Linked DNA regions of Homo sapiens: region 1 is linked to region 2. The links are contacts of gene promoters, found by promoter capture Hi-C in blood cells and fetal thymus (Javierre and others, 2016). All regions are on one chromosome and are shown on one strand. The core of a region is centred on a gene start or on the middle of the fragment in contact, and the rest is flanking DNA. Distances in the headings are between cores, read along the strand shown.

Region 1 (3,687 bases), core at 469-2,968, 470 kb before region 2:
TGAAGGTTAAAGAGAGAAGGCCAGCCGGGTGCAGTGGCTCACGCCTATAATCCCAGAACTTTGGGAGGCTGAAGCAGGTGGATCATGAGGTCAGGAGTTCAAGACCAGCCTGGCCAAGATGGTGAAACCCTGTCTCTACTAAAAATACAAAAAAATTAGCCGGGTATGGTGGTGGGCGCCTGTAATCCCAGCTACTCGGGGAGGGGGCTGAGGCAGAGAATTGCTTGAACCCGGGAGGCGGAGATTGCAGTGAGCTGAAATCGCGCCACTGCACTGCAGCCTGGGCGACAGAGTGAGACTCCGTCTCAAAAAAAAAAGAAAAAGAAAAGGAGAGAGAGAGAGAGAAGGTCAAGTGCCGCATTTAACCATGATCTTAGGATGGGCTCCCTGCATGCTCAGAGCCCTCTTTACCCTTGGGAAGTGAGCACACACAGTGATTTTATGGATTTATACACATGCCCATCTGAGGCTTTCTTCCTTTTTCCGGTGGAGTGTATCAGAAAAATCATACTTCATCACTTTTGTCTCTTAACCGGCATGCCCAGGAAGTTGCTTCTCTCTGGGGCCTGCATTCAATTAACATTTTGATGTTAACAGGTGTGGGCCATCAGGAAATGGCCTTTCCCTGGCGCTGCCAAATTTTCATTTTTAGAGAGGCCATGTGATAATTGCTGAACCATCACCCAACATTTCTAGTGGGTGGGTGGCAGGGGAGAGCCCTCTCCTGCCTTGCTCATGCCTAACTACCTGTAACAGATTCAGTTCGCCATTTTATAATGTATGAGCATGATCTGTGGTCCCCCAAAACAATTACAGTAGTGACATCAAAGATCAGTGATCACACAGATCACTCTAACAGATACAAAAATAATGAAAAAGTTTGAAATATTGTGGGAATTACCAAAATATGTCAGAGACACAAAGTGAGCACATGATGTTGGAAAAACATGGCACCCATACACTTGCTCCATCAAGGTTGCCTCAAACCTTCCATTTGTAGTAAACTCAGTATCTGCAAAGCACAATAAAATGCACAATAAAACAAGGTATGCCTCTCTATGCTCTCACAAACCTCTGTATTTTATCTTAGAAACACTCACAACTGTAATAAATGATTGTTTATTCTTTCTTTCCAGTTAATCTCTAGCTCTGATCCTCACCCGCAAAGAACTGGGCCACCTTCCCTGCTTTATCCCCACTATGCCTAAACACACAGTGAGTGTTCCATAAACACTTGTTTAGTGGCAATAAATATAGCAGACACATTTATTTGCCACTTTATAAGGAAAAAAGGTGCAGATACATAGACGACCTATTTTCTGATACCAAATTAGGAAGAGTTCTCCATCTTTGGCCAAGTTTTTTTTTTTCTAAACAGCTTTACTGAAGTATAATCGTTTTTTACCTTATTTAAAAATAAGTACCACTCCACTAAAACGCGCTCTGTGGTTAGTTCTCGGCTGGACCGTTCAAAAGGCTGATCCTTACAGCCTTTATTATTAATACAACCAGGTCGGGACTGCTTTTGCGTGGGTCACCAGAAGTAAAAAATCAAAGAGGAGCCAACCCCATTCCGAACAAGGAAACACCCGTCCCCTTCCTACACCAATTCCTGCTCCGCCCTTCGTAGGGAACGCAGCGAGGGCAGCCTCCGGAGTGGAGGGGCGGGACTTCCGGCCCTTCCTGTTGTGGAGGGGCGGGACTTCCTGTCTTCCCTGTTGCGGAGCTCTGAAGCGGCTCCCTGAGGGCGCTGGTTTTGAACTGGTCTTGTGCGGTTTGCGCTTTCTCTTAGTGGTTACAGTTGGCGCTGTCTCCGCTTTCCTGTTTCGTGGCGGGCATCTTGGCCAAAACACTCTCCCTGCCACCTTATTCCTCTAGGGTTGTGATTTTTTTCTTTCACCAAGAAATATCACTCGCTGGTAATTTGTCAAACTGAAGAAACCCCTGAAGAAGCAGTGGTGGGCAGGCGCCGACGCTGCGGCTTCCAGAGCATTTTGGCAAATCAAAGCCAGGGACCGTTGCTGGGCCTCATTTCCGCAACTTTTCGGCTCCGAACTGCTGTGAGTGGAAGACTTTTGGTGGTTGTTTTGATCAGGCTCCTTCTGTAACTAGAGACTATAGCATTTTGAAAGAAATGAGATTCTCATTCATGTCAAGAACAGACTTGTGGATTTTTGAGTGTTAAACATACCCTGACGTAATGTGCTGGGTGATGAGAACGCAAGCGGGAATGAGACTGTAGAGATGAGAATGGCAGTGTGGGTTGGAGCCGGGTTATGGTTTCCTATGGTATGCCAAGAACCTTAGTCATTACACTGTTTGTTGTGTATGCTTGATTATTTAAAATTAGAAAACCGCCTCAGTAAAGCTATTAAAAAAAAGACCTGACCAAAGATAGACTATTTTTCCCAAATTGGAATCAGAAAATGTCTTCCATCTATGTATCAGCACCCGTTTTTTCCCCTAAAATACCAAGTAGACATACCCGATATATACGTGTGTGTTTATATATATATCTGTAATCTATATTGCCATTTGATAAGTACGTAAACAGGTGATGTAAAGCACTTGGTATGGTGTGACTTGTGGAAAGTTACCTATGTCATCAATACTAGAGATGGATTGGAGAGAGAAGAAATTCCAGACAGTTGCAGGAGTTGGAGAGTCTATGGCCTGAAAAAGAGAAAGAGGTAGAGAGAGTCAGGTTCCAAAGACAGAAAATCAACAGGACTTGTTACAGGGGCATGGAGTGGAAAGTCAAGTTTTAGAATATTGGCTGCTAACAATGAGACACCATTAATTCAAATTGCAAATTCAAGAGGAGCAGTTTACTTATTTTTCATCATTCAAATATTTATTGTGCCATTTACTATTTGCCTAATACTGTTTTAGATGCCAGAGATACTGTTACATATAAGACAGATAAGGCCCCTGCTTCGGTTGACTTTATATCCTAGTGGGAGAAAATAAAAAGCAAGTAAATAATCAATTTTGATGATAGATTCTATGAAGAAAAAACTTGAAGAGGGATGACAAATGATTGGGAGATGTTTGGGAGTAACTTTAACTTAGTTGGTCGTTGGGCCCTTGTAGGAGTTACATTTGTGCTGAAACCTTGATGATGATAAAGAACCAGCCTTGTGATTAGCCAAGGAAAAGACAAGGCAGGCAGAAAGAACTGCAAAGATGGGAAAGAGCTTGTTTAAAGAACATTTAAAATGCCAATGTATCTAAAGTGCCCTGTAGAAGTAGGAGAGAGTTGAGAAATGACATTGGGAGAGGTAGATAGGACCAGACTGTGTGGCCTTTGTAGGCCATAGTTTAGGAGTTTGGATTTTAAGTAGAAATGGAAGGTACTGGTGGGTTTTAAGCCACGAAGTGATAGATGTGATTTTCATTTTAAAAGATCCCTCTGGGCACTACTGTATGCAGACTGGATTTGAGGGAAGAGATGAGAGTGAAAGTGCAATTAGGGGGTATTACAGAAGCCTGCTTTTGGTAGGAGTGATTAAGTTCCATTTTAGTTATGTTGAGTTTGATTTATCTATGGGACAGGGACATAGAGAGCGGTCTAGCAGGCAGCCACCTGAAAGCTCTGTGAGAGGTCAGGTACATTTAGTTCTCTAGAGAAAGAAAATAATTAAAAGTGTGTGAATCTCCTCAGGAGAGACCATGTGGTTAAATATT
Region 2 (3,920 bases), core at 62-2,561:
CCAGTTTAGCAGTGTTGGGAGCTCTTATACCAAGTTTGGTTTCGCAATATCGAGTCCTGTCTTAGCTATGCTTGTGTGTTTTTAAAACTCCCGTGGAAGTCAGGAAATGCCGGCGATCGCGATGTCTCAGTTTTACCAAGCTCCCTTTGACAATAGCAAGTCCTGCCCATCGAGACTTTTTCCTCTTGTAGACCAAATCGGGATGTACCAGCTACTACGATTTTTTAGACGTAGCTAAACACGTTTAACCGTGGATATTTTTGTTTTTTTTCTCGTAGGAAATTATGACAGGAGCAACCTGCAGGGGTTTAGATCTGACAGAAATATTCTAATGGTAGGCATTGCATCGCTTAGCCATATTTGTAATTTCTTCTTTGTAGGGTTGGTTCTCTGTAACTTTTGCTTACCTTAAAATTATTTTTGTGTCTTGCTCTGAGGACAATGTTACCGATGTGTTTTTCATTTTTACTTGCATTTCAGACTTTCATTATTTTAAATTATGTATTTTTTTTTTCTTCTAATTTTGAGCGTCTCAGATTCGTGCTTCTTGACTTTCATTCTCTCAGGAGCCGGGGAGCCGAGCTCGGTCTTAGCCTCGCTGGTATCAGGTTCCGGGTTCTGTCTGGAGGCTCCGCTTCCTATGCAGAGCTGGCGGTTTTGTATCAGCACGTTTGCCAGTGGCGCCCACTGGGCGTTTTCTCAGTTGCTGCACCCAACGTGACATTTCCCGTTCGCGGGGTCCTTAGGTTCTCAGTGCTGTCACTTTTTCGCTCCTACAACCGCTAGTATCTCCTAGGAACTTCCTGAACCCCGTTTTGCCGTGCAGAACGGTGATTGCACCGAGCCGCTGTTCGCACTAGTAATTGTGTGGTACCATTAGCCGGCGCTTTTTCTGTCACAACCCATTAAAACGGGTTAAAACATATTAAACCTATCAAACACATTGAACGGATTAAAACACATTAAATGCCGCAACACATTTTTCTGGTACAACACATTGAAACAGAGTTGGTTCATTCCTCCAAACAGGTTGTTTAGGTGTGGAAGCACCGCTCTTAGTTCTAAGAGCATGCTGTTTCTCTTTAGCAGCACCCTTTACGGCGCCAAAACGGATATTTGTTTGGCAATACCAGCGCTATCCGCTAGGTGCCGGCGCTTGCTAAGTTCAACGCGCCAGTTTCTCGTTTGCAAGGTGGTTAGGGCAGAGCCCTAGCAGACAGTTTTCCGGTGGCAGCAACGCTCATTTCCCGGAAACGGGTGGTTCTTGGCCCTTGCGCGCTCTTGAATACCTGCGTTCTGTAGCGCTAGTTCTCTTCAAGATTTGCTTAGTGTCATTTCATTTCGGTTTCTTTTCTCGCCATGTTTTTCTGTCGGAATTACGGTTCGTTTTGGTTCTATGTACTCTCTAAAATGTTATCGTTTTTCATTTGTCTACTAATTTTCGTGCATTTGTTACTACTGAGTTTCTTAATATCTGACTGGCCTCCGCCCACGGGCTCTGCAGAGCATAAATACTCAGGCTGATGGTAGTGCAGAGACTCTCCCTCCTTGATCAGCGCAAACGTTGGTCTGAGGCTTGAGGGATGGAGCAACATTTTCTTGGCTGTGTGAAGCGGGCTTGGGATTCCGCAGAGGTGGCGCCAGAGCCCCAGCCTCCACCTATTGTGAGTTCAGAAGATCGTGGGCCGTGGCCTCTTCCTTTGTATCCAGTACTAGGAGAGTACTCACTGGACAGCTGTGATTTGGGACTGCTTTCCAGCCCTTGCTGGCGGCTGCCCGGAGTCTACTGGCAAAACGGACTCTCTCCTGGAGTCCAGAGCACCTTGGAACCAAGTACAGCGAAGCCCACTGAGTTCAGTTGGCCGGGGACACAGAAGCAGCAAGAGGCACCCGTAGAAGAGGTGGGGCAGGCAGAGGAACCCGACAGACTCAGGCTCCAGCAGCTTCCCTGGAGCAGTCCTCTCCATCCCTGGGACAGACAGCAGGACACCGAGGTCTGTGACAGCGGGTGCCTTTTGGAACGCCGCCATCCTCCTGCCCTCCAGCCGTGGCGCCACCTCCCGGGTTTCTCAGACTGCCTGGAGTGGATTCTTCGCGTTGGTTTTGCCGCGTTCTCTGTACTCTGGGCGTGCTGTTCACGGATCTGTGGAGCTAAGCAGCCTTAGATAGCAGCAGAAGGCTTTTTGGATTCTCCTCCTTGAAAAGATTCTCAGTTACCAAACGTCTCCACCTAGAAAATAAAAATACATTAAGATGTGCTTTCATTGCTGGTTGTCAGTTTTTAAATTCTCTTTTTCCCTTATGTTTCTTTCTTGTTTCGCGTCGCTTATTACTTTCAGTTTCCTTGTATTTTAAATATTTGTATTTATTTCATTAAATATTTCATTCGTATCTGTTTTCACTTTGAGAAATCTATTTTACGATTGTAGAATTCTTAGAGTTTTTGGCAAATTTAAAATTTGTTTTTTTCCATTGTATTTTAAAATCTTATTCCTACTATTTTTCTAATTATTGCTTTTTAAATGTATTGTTTGTTTACATTTAATTTTATATCATGTCTTTTACGTTATTATAACGTCTTTTTAATTTTAATTGTTAATTTTATTTTTAACAGCGGTCTTTCTTTTTTTCAGTATATCGATTCATTGTTTTACACTCAGGAATTTTATTCACGATCATAAGACTGAGAGGTTTATCAATCTTTGCTATTTCTCGTGGAAGGACCACGCAATTACTTATATTAATACAACTTCACAGATGACCAGTTCTTAAGATTACTTATTCTGGCGGGGCAGCGTGGCTCACGGCAGTAATCCCAGCACTTTCAGCAGCGGAGGCATGCGGATTGCTTGAGCTCAGGAGTTTGAGAAAAGCCTGGGCGACAGGGTGAGGCCTGTGTCTACAAAAAATGCAAAAGTTAGCCCTGTGAGATGGTGTGCACCTGTAGTCCCAGCTGCTCCGGAGGCTGGGGTGGGCGGGTTGCTTGAGCTCAGGAGGTCGAGGCTGCGGTGAGCCGGATAGCACCAACGCCCTCCAGCAGAGCGAGAGCCTGTCTCAAAATAAATAAATAATTGAAAAGACTACTTATTCATGGGTCTCAGGGCTAGCAGTGTTTCCAGCGTCTTTTTCTTTGGAACAGTTTAGCTTGGCTTATAAGAGAACTACCAGTTACTTAATGGTACCACAACTGGGTTTAGCAATTCGGGTAGGCACAGCAGGTCCGGCTTGGCCCTGCCTGCTTTGACTGCCTTTTCGGGAGTTTTAAACCTCCTACACTCGGAATGTAGCCCTGATTGTGGTTTCTCTGCATAGCAAGTTCGGACTTAAGCGGAATAAGTATCGGCTTATTTCGCCTGCGATAAAGATGCTTAATTCTGCGTTCGAAATATTCTGAGCGAGTCCTGGGTTAGGGATTTCTTAGAGTAACAAGTGCATGCTTCGATTTTAAGTGCCCCTGTGAATGTGATTTCTTAGCTCTTGCAAGTCCATATTTGGTCGCAACCAGTACTAGCATAGCCATGCCTGCGACTCCTTAGTCCCAGTAACTTTCGGTTTCATAATAACTTACCCTGCTTTACTTATGCCTGAGTTTTAAATATAGAAGTCCGGGCACGTAGGTGAAGAAGATATTTTAGGAGTAGCAAGTAGCGGTTTAGCAGTGTCTGCAGTCCCTTAGTTAGAAGTCCTGGTGAGACCGAGCAGATACTGATATAGGCCTGACAGCGATATTACCTCTGTGAAACCACATTGTTTAGAAGTGTTTGCATTTTCTTCTTTGTAGAGTCCATTTTTCCATGTTTTGCTTAGTTTTGAATTTTCATTTGATGAATCTTCCCAAATGTATTGTTTTTATTGTGTGTGCGTGTGTTTTTCAGCTAACTTGCCCTTTAAAAAAAAATTGTTCCTAATTTTTGTTTTGC

The links. Contacts are between HindIII fragments. The CHiCAGO score rates a contact against its expected background, and 5 or more counts as called.
Region 1: the fragment with the promoter of C5orf34 here is called in contact with the fragment with the promoter of ANXA2R in region 2 in 2 of 17 cell types (neutrophils and M2 macrophages); the score reaches 6.3 in neutrophils.

Annotation. Positions count from the first base shown.
Region 1 is chr5:43,513,179-43,516,865 of GRCh38, reverse strand. C5orf34 (chromosome 5 open reading frame 34) reads left to right here and starts at 1,718. Exons shown (of 13, transcript NM_198566.4): 1 at 1,718-2,060. It overlaps LOC124900190 (a long non-coding RNA gene), which reads right to left. Exons shown (of 3, transcript XR_007058764.1): 2 at 1-2,673. RefSeq lists an enhancer at 1,951-2,110. The HindIII fragment of the contact is 8,167 bases long and covers 1-3,687 here.
Region 2 is chr5:43,037,710-43,041,629 of GRCh38, reverse strand. ANXA2R (annexin A2 receptor) reads left to right here and starts at 1,311. Exons shown (of 1, transcript NM_001014279.3): 1 at 1,311-2,259. The coding sequence starts at 1,584. The coding sequence ends at 2,165. The region is part of intron 2 of ANXA2R-OT1 (ANXA2R overlapping transcript 1); the gene reads left to right. RefSeq lists enhancers at 1-2, 1,658-1,707, 1,718-2,127, 2,148-2,197, 1,889-2,429 and a silencer at 1,048-1,317. The HindIII fragment of the contact is 14,499 bases long and covers 1-3,920 here.